Linked DNA regions of Homo sapiens: regions 1, 3 and 4 are each linked to region 2. The links are contacts of gene promoters, found by promoter capture Hi-C in blood cells and fetal thymus (Javierre and others, 2016). All regions are on one chromosome and are shown on one strand. The core of a region is centred on a gene start or on the middle of the fragment in contact, and the rest is flanking DNA. Distances in the headings are between cores, read along the strand shown.

What was found. The method cuts DNA at HindIII sites, captures the fragments that hold promoters and counts their contacts. A CHiCAGO score of 5 or more calls a contact.
Region 1: a fragment that was not itself captured here is called in contact with the fragment with the promoter of PLEK2 in region 2 in 1 of 17 cell types (total B cells); the score reaches 6.3 in total B cells.
Region 3: a contact is called between a fragment that was not itself captured here and the fragment with the promoter of PLEK2 in region 2, in 2 of 17 cell types (M0 macrophages and erythroblasts). The highest score is 6.2, in M0 macrophages.
Region 4: a fragment that was not itself captured here is called in contact with the fragment with the promoter of PLEK2 in region 2 in 1 of 17 cell types (M0 macrophages); the score reaches 5.6 in M0 macrophages.

Annotation. Positions count from the first base shown.
Region 1 is chr14:67,735,637-67,738,336 of GRCh38, reverse strand. It overlaps a transcript of ZFYVE26 not described here. Among named protein-coding and RNA genes, the nearest start is that of RDH12, 35 kb to the right of the region's middle. The HindIII fragment of the contact is 2,027 bases long and covers 258-2,284 here.
Region 2 is chr14:67,410,818-67,413,517 of GRCh38, reverse strand. It overlaps PLEK2 (pleckstrin 2), which reads left to right and starts at 1,353. Exons shown (of 9, transcript NM_016445.3): 1 at 1,353-1,500. The coding sequence starts at 1,459. It also overlaps a transcript of GPHN not described here. The HindIII fragment of the contact is 5,074 bases long and covers 1-2,700 here.
Region 3 is chr14:67,693,222-67,695,921 of GRCh38, reverse strand. It overlaps RDH11 (retinol dehydrogenase 11), which reads left to right and starts at 158. Exons shown (of 7, transcript NM_016026.4): 1 at 158-292. The coding sequence starts at 219. It also overlaps a transcript of GPHN not described here. RefSeq lists an enhancer at 5-641 and a silencer at 991-1,050. The HindIII fragment of the contact is 2,064 bases long and covers 371-2,434 here.
Region 4 is chr14:67,712,801-67,715,500 of GRCh38, reverse strand. All of the region lies in intron 1 of RDH12 (retinol dehydrogenase 12), which reads right to left. It also overlaps a transcript of GPHN not described here and the pseudogene RPL21P9. Among named protein-coding and RNA genes, the nearest start is that of RDH12, 12 kb to the right of the region's middle. The HindIII fragment of the contact is 1,428 bases long and covers 628-2,055 here.

The sequences.
Region 1 (2,700 bases), core at 22-2,521, 320 kb before region 2:
ATATAATTATTATATAATCATGTCAGATTGTATAATCATACCACAGATTAGTTTTTCGCCAACTGATGGACTTTTAGGCTATTTCCATTTTTTTGCTAATATGAACAATGCCTCCTCTTTACATACATAGGCTAATGTTACTGCAGATATTAAGAAGCTGAATTGCTGGTAGAAATGGCTCCACCATTTCTTCCACTCATAGCAGCAGTGTATAAAAATATCTATTTTTCTATATTTTTGCCAATATTTGCTAAGCTTTCAAATTTTTGACAATGTGATGGTTTAAAATGGTATAATGGCATCTTGTTTTAATTTGCAGTTCTCTGATCACTGGTCAGGTTAAATATCTTGACTTAGGTACATTGGCCATTTGCGTTTCTTCTGAAAATTTCCTATTTATAACTTTTGCAAAGTTCTCTGTTGGGTTCTGTGTCTTGTTCTTATTGAGAAGTAGAAGTTCTTTATATGATAATAAGTTGAGAGTGGTGACTCACACCTGTAAGCCCAGCACTTTGGGAGGCCAAGGTGGGAGGATCACTTGAGTCCAGGAGTTTGAGATCAGCCTGGGCAATAAAGCGAGACCCCAAGTCGAAAGAAAAATGAATAAAAATATGGGTACTACTCTTTTGTGTGATACATATTATCTATGTAAATATAAGATAGGTCATATATACATATACATCTGCAGCAGATGCTGTGTTGCACCACCCAGATTCCCTCCTATGGTTTGGTTCTGTGTCCCCACCCAAATCTCATCTCAAATTGTAATCCCCATGTGTTGAGGGAGGGACCTGGTGGGAGTTGACTGAATCATGAGGGTGGTTTCCCCCATTGTCTTCTCGTGATAGTGAGAGAGTTCTCATGAGACCTGATGGTTTTAAAAGTGGCAGTTTCCCCTGCACTCTCTCTCTCTCCTGCCACCTTATGAAGATGTGCCTTGCTTCCCTTTCACCTTCCACCATGATTGTAAGTTTCCTGAGGCCTCCCCGGCCATGTGGAAGTATGAGCCAATTAAACCTCTTTTCTTTATAAATTACCCGGTCTTGGGTAGGATCTTTATAGCAGTGTGAGAATAGACTAATATACTCCCTTTAGAAATGAAGCATACAGCTAGGCATAGTGGCTCATGCTTGTAATCCCAGCACTTTGATAGGCCAAGACAGGAAGATTGCTTGAGCCCAGGAATTCAAGGCCAGCATGGGCAACAGAGAGAGACCTTGTCTCTACCGAAAAAAAAAAAAAAAAAAAGAAAAGAAAAAGAAATGAAGCACTTATTCTCCCAGATGCTGGAAATGTACACAGCTGCCAACTCTCAGCTGAGTTTTTATCTAGAACTTGCCCTCACCCAGGTCATGCCCCCTCCCTGGAAGCTGCCCACACCCAATTACTGGTCACTGCGGGTGTTTAAAGACCAACCTCCTTTCCTCAATTCAAGACAGCTCAGCTCCAGAGCTCTCTGTGGAACAGGATCACCTAACCCTTTAGTGTGACTGCATCGCAGATCAACTTCACCCTCTGCCCTGTCCCGCTTCTCTCACTCCCCTATAGATACCAATCCTAACAGTCCTCCTAATAAATTTGCTGTGTGCAAATGTCTGTATCTCGAAGTCCGTTTTCTAGAATACATAACGTAAAACAATTTCAAATATGTTCACCATTATCACTTGACTTTGAACTTTGTTTGAGGTATGCTTTTTGGATGTATTCCTCTTTTCCCATATGCTTTTTGCTTTTCATGTCTTAAGAATGCTATCCCTCTTCCAAGGGCATAAAGATATTCTTCTATATTTTTTTCTAATATTTTCACAACTTTTTTTGCCTTTTAGTCCACATAGTACTCATTTGTATGCATGGTGTGAGGCAAAGAATCTAACTTTATGTTTCATTTGGATAGTTATTTGTCCAGCACCACTTATGACATTGTCTATGTTTTTCTGACTGATTTGAAATGCCTCTTCTACAATATGAAAATATGATAGCGATATCAAAATAGCATATATGAGAATATGATAGCCGTAGAAGAGACGTTTCAATACCCAATACCCAACTACAGTTGAATGCTTCACAGTGAGCATTTGACCCAAGCCAAACCTGGAATTTTTTAAATTCTAAAAATAGGAAATGGCTGCAGGAACTCTTCAATGGTAGAGGGAGAGGAGTCTGGTGTTGCTTGGCGCTTGAGTTCTAGTTATTTCTAAGATACATCTCTGCCCATTCCCACTTTCCAGTTTCAACCCTTCCTTGAGTTTATGAGCAAAATATTGCATGGTTTGGGACTTAAGCTTGCTCAAACTGAGTGTCCATCTTATAACTAAAAGAGACCAAATACACAAGGTATATCCTCCTGAGCTTGGGACGCATGGCAACATTGTATACGAAGTTGAGTTGGACAAGGGCCAAGTGCCACCCAAGGTAATCTGTGGCAGCTAGTCACCACCTAGGAAATCGGTGCTCTGAAACTGTTTGTTTCTTGAGTTTCATATGTCTCTTTGATTTCCTTTTCCTTTAGTTTCCCATTGAAGTGTTATTTTTAGGAAATTAGGACAGTCTCAGCTGAGCCAAAAGAAAAAGATTTTCCACCCCAGGCTAGATTAGCTAAGGGTGTCAGAGGCTAAGAGAAGCCAGGAATAGTGAAGGCAGTGGAACTGGGGCAGTTAGAGAAGCACCTAGGAGGGAAGTCTGGAACAACTGAAATCCCTG
Region 2 (2,700 bases), core at 104-2,603:
CTGGTTCACCTTCTTCCTCTCTAGAGCCTTCTCTTCCCTTACAGGCATCTGAGGGCCTTTCCCATGCCTGGTGAAGAGTCCTGACAGGGCCCTTCAAACTGGAGCACAAATAATATGGACCGGCCCCATGACTCATGCCCACAATCCCAGCACTTTGGGAGGCTGAGGCAGGAGGACTGCTTGAGCCCAGGAGTTCGAGACCAGTCTGGACAATATAGTGAGACCCTGTCTCTATAAATAAAAATAAATTTTAAAAAAATGTGTGACTGTGTTCTAAGGATTGTTAGACAGAATCAGTACTATTTGACTGAGTTTCCTTCTGTTCCAGGCTCCAATATGGCCTGATAGAACATTGTTGTTGATCCTATCTATTTAAAATGTTAGCATTTTGTTCATCGTGGATTTTTTGACATTAATTTTGATTTTAAAAAATGCATTAAAATATTATTTTTCTAGGTCTTACACGGTGGCTCTTGCCTGTAATCCCAGCACTTTGGGAAGCCCAGGCCGGAGGATTGCTTGAGGCCAGGAATCAAGACCAGCCTGGGCAACATAGCAACACCCTATCTCTACGAAAAATAAAAATAAACCAGCCAGGCATGGTGGTGCACTCCTGTAGTCCTAGCTACTTGGGGAGCTGAGGCAGGAGGATCTTAAGCCCAGAGTTTAAGGCTGCAGTGAGCTATGATCACACCACTGCACTCCAGCCTGGGTGACAGAGAAAGACCCTGTCTCAAAAAACAAACAAAAAACCCCAAAAAACCAATCATCTCTCTCTATATATAATTTGTCTAGGTTACTGGACTCCTTGGTGCCCCCTTAAATTTTGTCCTTAATGATGGAATTTTCGGCTTCATCTTTTTTGAGGGAGCGGGGTATATCCTGCGGACAGGGGGCCCTGCAAACTGTGCCTGCCGCCTTAAAACTGTGACCTTCCTGTTACTGAGAGGTCTTCTCTGCCCCCATCAGAGGCCAGGATAAAATTCCCATACCAGTTTCGGCTCACCCACTGTCCCATCTCCTACTTGCAATGAGCTCAGGAATGGCTCCAAATCCTGGAGTCCTGTCGGTTATGTTCAATTCGATAAGCGTTCCTCGAGGGCAATGCGCTAAGTGCCCGGGAAGCACCTGGCGAAGGACGCTGAGCAGAGAGACTGGAACAGTGAGGGGCGCGGGGCGCACCTGGATGGGGCGGGGTTGGCCGCTCTGTACCTGGAGGACCAACCACCGACCCTGGAGCACCTTTGGGTGGAAACGTCACGTCAGAAATCCCGACTTGGTCTGACTTCCTGCCCCGGGGCCTCAGGCTCTGGACACGCGCCAGGGAGGCGTCGCCCTGCCGCGTCGGAGCTGCTTCCTGGGCGCCGTGGGCGCGGACTGCGCGGGCTGCGCGGGTGCCGAGGAGCGCGAGGCGCGGGGAAGGCGCACCTGGGGTGGCCCTGGCGTGCGGGCGGCGACATGGAGGACGGCGTGCTCAAGGAGGGCTTCCTGGTCAAGAGGGTGAGTGCGCGTCGAGCTTCGGGACATTGCCCGGGTGGGGCCCCGCCGACGCGGCTCCCTAGAGCGGGGCCAGACGCGCGCCCCGGAACGGGCATGCTCTGGTTCCCATCCCCAACCCCCATGGTGGGACCGGGCCGCCTGTGGCCCTGATGGGCAGAGCTGCATGTCCGAGGGGACGCGGGGTAAGCGGTGGCTCAGCGCACAGGCAAGGAGGAGAATCCCACTTGGTTAGCGCAGTATGGAGTCGGGGCAGGGGTACTGAAGCGTGTGTCTTAATTAAAACTTGTTAAAATATTATGAATGGTATGATATTTAAATAATATTTACTAAGATAATATAGGCGTGCTCTGTAATTTACAACCTGTGAAGGAGGAATGCTACTATGTGTCTTAAGCACTTACTGTTGGCCAGCCCTGGATATTGTCTCATGTCATCCTCCCAGCAGCCCTGCTTTCATCAAGGGGGAAAACGAAGCCCAGAGGAGTTAGGGAACTTGCTCGGGGCGGTGAAGGCAGTGGGTGGTGGAGCCAGGATCGGGATCAGACCCACTCAGGTTGACCCAAACCTTTACTGCCTCCCCAGTGCCATACACGGTGGGTACTGACATCACTCTATTACAGACGGGGAAACTGAGGACCAGAAAGATGAAGTAGCTTGCCCAGAGCTCCAGAGCCAGTAATAGCTGGGACAGGAACTGCATGTTCTGACCTCCCCTCCTCAGTCCTTCCCCACCACCCCAGGTGGCCCAGGGCAAACGAGTGCAAACAAAAACTCAGTGCCTGGGATTATGGTAGAAGATGAACAAAAGAGCAGCTGCAAAAGGAAGTTTGTTATTTCAAAATTTTTTCCTGATTTGACCTTTTTTTTTTTTTTTTTTTTTTGAGACAGGGTCACCCAGGCTGGAGTGCAGTGGCACAATCCTGGCTCACCACAGCCTCGACTTCCCAGGCTCAGGTGGTCCTCTCACCTCAGCTTCCCTAGTAGCTGGGACTACAGGTATCCACTACTATGCCCAGCTAATTTTTGTATTTTTTTGTGGAGACAGGGTTTCGCCATGTTTCCCAGGCAGGTCTTGAACTCCCGGGTTTAAGTCATCTGCCCACCTTAGCCTCCCAAGGTGCTGGGATAACAGGCGTGAGCCACCACACAGAGCGTAATTTGAACAATGACATTAACACTAACCATTTATACTGCTATGAT
Region 3 (2,700 bases), core at 153-2,652, 280 kb before region 2:
ATGGTTGGGGATTAGCGATGTATAATTCAACTTCTGCCAGCGTTGGCGGCAGCGCTCCCACGTAGCCAGCCTGAGGCTGTCAAGCTCTGGACTACATTTCCCAGAAGGTCTGCTCCCCGGGCTGTCGCAATTTGAATTGGGGCGTGTCTAGAAAGAGAAGCCATAGTCGGCGAGCAACGCTGGAGCATCCCGCTCTGGTGCCGCTGCAGCCGGCAGAGATGGTTGAGCTCATGTTCCCGCTGTTGCTCCTCCTTCTGCCCTTCCTTCTGTATATGGCTGCGCCCCAAATCAGGTCTGTGCAAATGTATTGCCTTCTCTTGAGAATTCTTGTTGCGGGGCGGGAGGGAAACATAGAATCCCCACCAAAGCTTTCTTGGAAAACTCCCCTGGGGGGGCTCCAAGATGGCGGAGCCCAGAGTTCGGTGGGTTGGAGGCGAGGTCCAGCTGTCCTGGGTGCCAGGAGGACACCCGAGACCCCAGGCGGTGAGAAAGGGCGGCAGTCCGGGGCACACTGCTTTTCCCTGGCCTGTTTTTCTTTTGTCTAAGCACCCCCTGATTCTGGCTCCAGGGAATCCCGAGGGTAAGGCTACCTCAAACGCTTGAGTTTCGGACTCTTCAATGGGATATGGCCCGACGCTGTTTTCCCCTTATTCCCCACGCCTTAAACCAGCCTTCGAGGTACAAAGGAGCGATTCCACATTTCGCCCTCTGAAACTGATAGCAATCGTAACATCTGCGGCCCCATCCTTGCTCTCTCGTTGCTGTTACAATCGCTTGTTCTGTGGGCGGATGTTGTAAAGGAGAAAAGTGAAAAGGAAGAGTGTTTGGTTATGAGCTCTATCCTGCCTTGCGAGCAGGAGCACGGGGGATCTGAGTTAGGAGCTAGGGTACTGGGGCGGTGAGGGCTGGGAGAATGGTGGGAAGGTATTGACCAGGTGATAGATCAATCAGCCCAAGGCTGGCCAAGTGCCCCAGTGAATCAGCAGCGGGCTGTAAAACCGGCAGCCTGCTTATTGGTTCTAAGTAAATCACCAGTGGTGACGGACCAGTGACTGAATAGACAGACACACTCCTTCCCCAGGTGGGCGGTCTTAGTCCCAATAGAACTTGAAGCCAGGCCAGATCACAGTCATTTCTTACCACAGTCACCTACTTTCCTTCTTTTATTTTTATTTTCTCTTCCTTCTCTGGTGCCCCTCTTCCAGTTATATTTTTTCTGCCTTCTGAACACTCAGTTCTCCCACCTCTAGGCACACATGGTTTCTCACACTCAGATGAAAACACTGCTTTTTATCTTTTTTTCACTACAAGATCCTCTTATCCACATAGAATCTCAATGAAAAGTTGAACCAGAACTGAAAATAGTGCTCATACCCCAGAGGGATTTTTCTGGAAAAAAAAAAAATATATGTGTGTATATATATATATATATGTGTGTGTGTGTATATATATATATGTGTGTGTGTGTGTATATATATATATATATATATTCCAGGAGCTGTATTCCCAACTCAGCAGGGTTATGGGAGTCGGGCCAGAGCTGGACTTTTATAGTTGTCTCTTTCATTCCTGCTGGTTAAGGAGAAGAAAGAACTAAGTACAGGTCCTACTAAGTTGTCACTCCTGGAGCTACATACAGTAAGGGGATGTGGGAAACAGCCTAGAGGCTTGTTTTCTGAGGAGGGAGGTGATGGTTTGTGGGGACCATGAGTTAATCTGCCTCCCTGTCAGCATTTTCGCACTATGCAGGTAGCTTCAATGGCTAAGAGTATGTACCTTGCAATTCCAAGTTCAATGAAAAAGGCTGAAATGCTCTTTAAGAATGCATCTCCTGGTCAACAGATTGTTTTAACCAGAGTCCCAACATTGCCAAGAAGAGAATAGGCCAGTCTGAGAACCACCAATCTGTGTTTGTGCATTCATTCATTTGGAAAAGGCAATATAGTATAGTACTTAGAAACAAGCACTCTAGGCTGGGCTTGGTGACTCACACCTGTAATCCCAGCACTTTGGGAGGCTGAGGTGGGCGGATCACCTGAGGTCAGGAGTTCGAGACCATCCTGGCCAGCGTGGTGAAACCCTGTCTCTACTAAAAATACAAAAATTAGCTGGGCGTGGTGGCGCATGGGTGAGGGGGTGAGGGATGAGAATCGCTTGAACCTGGGAGATGGGGGTTGCAGTGGAGGTGGAGGTTGCAGTGAGCCGAGATCACACCATTGCACTCCAGCCTGGGCAACAAGAGCAAAACTCTGTCTCAAAAAAAAAAAAAAGAGAAAGAGAAAGAAAGAAACAAGGACTCTAATTACACAAAGCAAGACTTGAATCCCAGCTCCCCTTTGTACATACATAATCTTCTCTTTGTTTTAAGTGTGTATGTGCATGCGTGTGGGTGTGTTTTTTTTTTCTTGTTTATTTTGTCCCAGAGTCACAAGCTTTCATAATTTTAACTTTTTGTATTGGATTAGCCATTTCTCAAGGCCATAAAATGCCAGTTGTGGACAGATTGACCTACAGAAACTAGTTATTTCTTCTTCTGGGCTGAATCTTGTGATTTCCTAAGTCACAAGTGCCTTAGAGAGCTCAAACCAAAGCCAGGTGCCTGGCTAAGCAGGTATTCATCCAGTTCTTGTGCTGCAGAGAACAGCTGTAAGCTTTGCCCTTGTAATAGAATCACTTTTGTCTTTGAGCAAAAGCAGAAAA
Region 4 (2,700 bases), core at 92-2,591, 300 kb before region 2:
AGGGGGCAAAGCTGTGCAAAGCTTCTGCCAACTCAAGGGCTTACAGCAATCGGTGAAGTCATAGGCATCCAACATCAGGACAAGGACAGATAAAGAAATGCCTCTTAGACAAAATGTTTTGCTATTTTCTGTTTGGAGTAAACCAAATAATATAGAGAATCATTTAAAGAATACTCAGCATGACTTACTGCCCAGCTTATGAAATAAAACATCATCAGAAGTAGATCTGGATATTGTAGGGCCTGAAGTCTATTCAATTTAGGGGGCTCCCCCCCTTTTATTTTTTAACGGCTATTATGCTATGAATTCGTAGGGAATAGGTTCCAAGCAACTTAGGCTTCTTTCCATTGGTTCTCACAAAGTGAGCTTCACAAAGTGGAGAAGGCTGGCACTTCAGGTACTTTTCTCTTTTGCTTCCTTCTTTTTCTGATCCTTTTCCTTTACATGCTTCAGGAAGTTATCTTGGCCCTTAGACTGCTTAATATGCTCAATAAACACATTAATTCTCTCAGCAAGAATCTTGCCTTTAATTTGTTTGTGTCCAAGAACACTGTTGATAGGCTCTTCCAGTTTTGCCGTGGTAACATGTGTGGGGCATTCAGTGAATGCCTTGAGTTGGCAGAAGCTTTGCACAGGTTTGCCTCTGCAATCTTGAGCACCTCACCACAGTGCAGGTGTAAGGCCTGGGCTTATTGGCCCTCTTTTATTTTTAAAAATTGCCTAACATTTAATTTCAAAAATCCCTTAGTCTCTTTTCAACTTATATCCCATTTCAGTCCCTAATACCATGATAACATGTGTGGGGCATTTTTGAACAGTTCCCATTCCCTTGATGTCTGCAACATAACCTTTCTTGTAGATTTGCATGGTTGTGGCCAAAGGAACAACTCCATGTTTTCTAAAAGGCCTAGAGAACATATATTGGTGTCCCTCCTCTTTCCCTTAGTGTTCCTCATTTTGGAGAATAACTGGAAGACGGCAGTTCCTTCTGAAAGGCTAGGGAACTCTTTTTAATAAAAAGAATATAAAACTATGAGTAAATATTAGGTACAAAAATAAAACAAAGCTGGGCACAGAGGCTCACACCTGTAATCCCAGCATTTTGGGAGGCCAAGGCAGGAGGATTTATTGAGGCAAGGAGTTTGAGACCAAGAGCAACATAATCAGATCTCAGCTCTACTAAAAAAATGAAAAAAAAATTAGCTGGCCATGGAGTGCACTCCTACAGTCCCTGCTACTCAAGAGGCTGAGGCAGGAGGAGAACTTGAGCCCTGAAGGTGGAGGCTGCAGGGATCTGTGATCACACCACTGCACTCCAGCCTGGGAGACGGAGCAAGACCCTGTCTCAAAAGTAAAGCAAGAAGTTAATTACAAGAAAAAAGTAAATAGGAAATTACAATTTTTTTAAATCTAATAGTTGCTACTGTGAAAGGAAACATTTTGGGCCCCCAAAATCACTAAGCTAAAGGGAAAATTCAAGCTGGGAACTGTTTAGGGCAAACCTGCCTCCCATTCTATTCAAAGTCATACCTCTCCTCATTAAGATAAATGCATATCTGGTTGCCTCTTTGAAAAGGCTAAACAGAAACTCAAAAGAATGCAGCTGTTTTTCTCTCACCTACCTGTGACTTGGAAGCCCCCTCCCTGCTTCGAGTTGTCCCTCCTTTCCAGACCAAACCGATGTTCATTTTACATATGTTGATTGATGTCTCACGTATCCCTAGAATGTATAAAACCAAACTGTGCTCTGACCATCCTGGACACATGTCGTCAGGACCTCCTGAGGCTGTGTCTTGGGTACGCGCCCTCAACCTTGGCAAAATAAACTTTACAAATTAACTGAGACCTGTCTCAAATTTTCTGGGTTTACATTTTGTTAACCACAAAAGGATTCTCAATGGAGATGCCCCTGACCTTTGACAAATCTCCTATCAGTGCCTGGTACCAGCATGAGCTAACTTTATGGCTCAAACCAACAGGACAATTTGCTGAGGTCTGGGAATATCCCCTCCAGAGAATCCCTGATGTCCCAAAATTTGGTCAAGATCTAAAGCTTATTTTGCTGTACATCCCCTCTTTTTTTTTTTTTTTTTTTTTTTTTTTGGAGTTTTACTTGCTTTCAACAAGAAAGGCAAGTTTTTCTGCTTCCATGACGATGGAAAGCAGGTAACTCCTTTATGGAGTTTGAGCTCACTTCCAATAGGGAAAATGAGGTTTTTTTTTGTTTTGTTTTTTGTTTGTTTGTTTGTTTGTTTGTTTTTCCTGCTTCTAGGATGGTAGAGAGTTGTTTTCAGCCTGAGACCCATCCCTAGGTATGTAGCTGAATTGAGGTTTTGTCTTGGCTAAAGTTAACAAAAAGCTGGTTTTAATTTCTGCTTACCATTAGAGTGCTCAGTGATCATATAAGTTGTGCCATTGTTTATTTCTGTTTTTATTGTTGTTTCAGTCTTTTTCCTGTTGGGTTTCATCAATTCTATCCAACTTGATCAAATCCAAAGGAAAGTTCCAAATTATGGGGAATAAGTCCTCTGAAGTGGTTAAATTCCCACACACAAAAAAGGGTGGTGTAGGAGAAAAATGGCCAGCAAAAGAAAAAAAAAAGAGAAGGGAACATTTTTTTATTTTGATTACTAAAGGGGCTTTATTTTCATAACAAGGCCACCTTTTTGCTAGCTGCCAACTGAAAGCAATGGCTGTCAC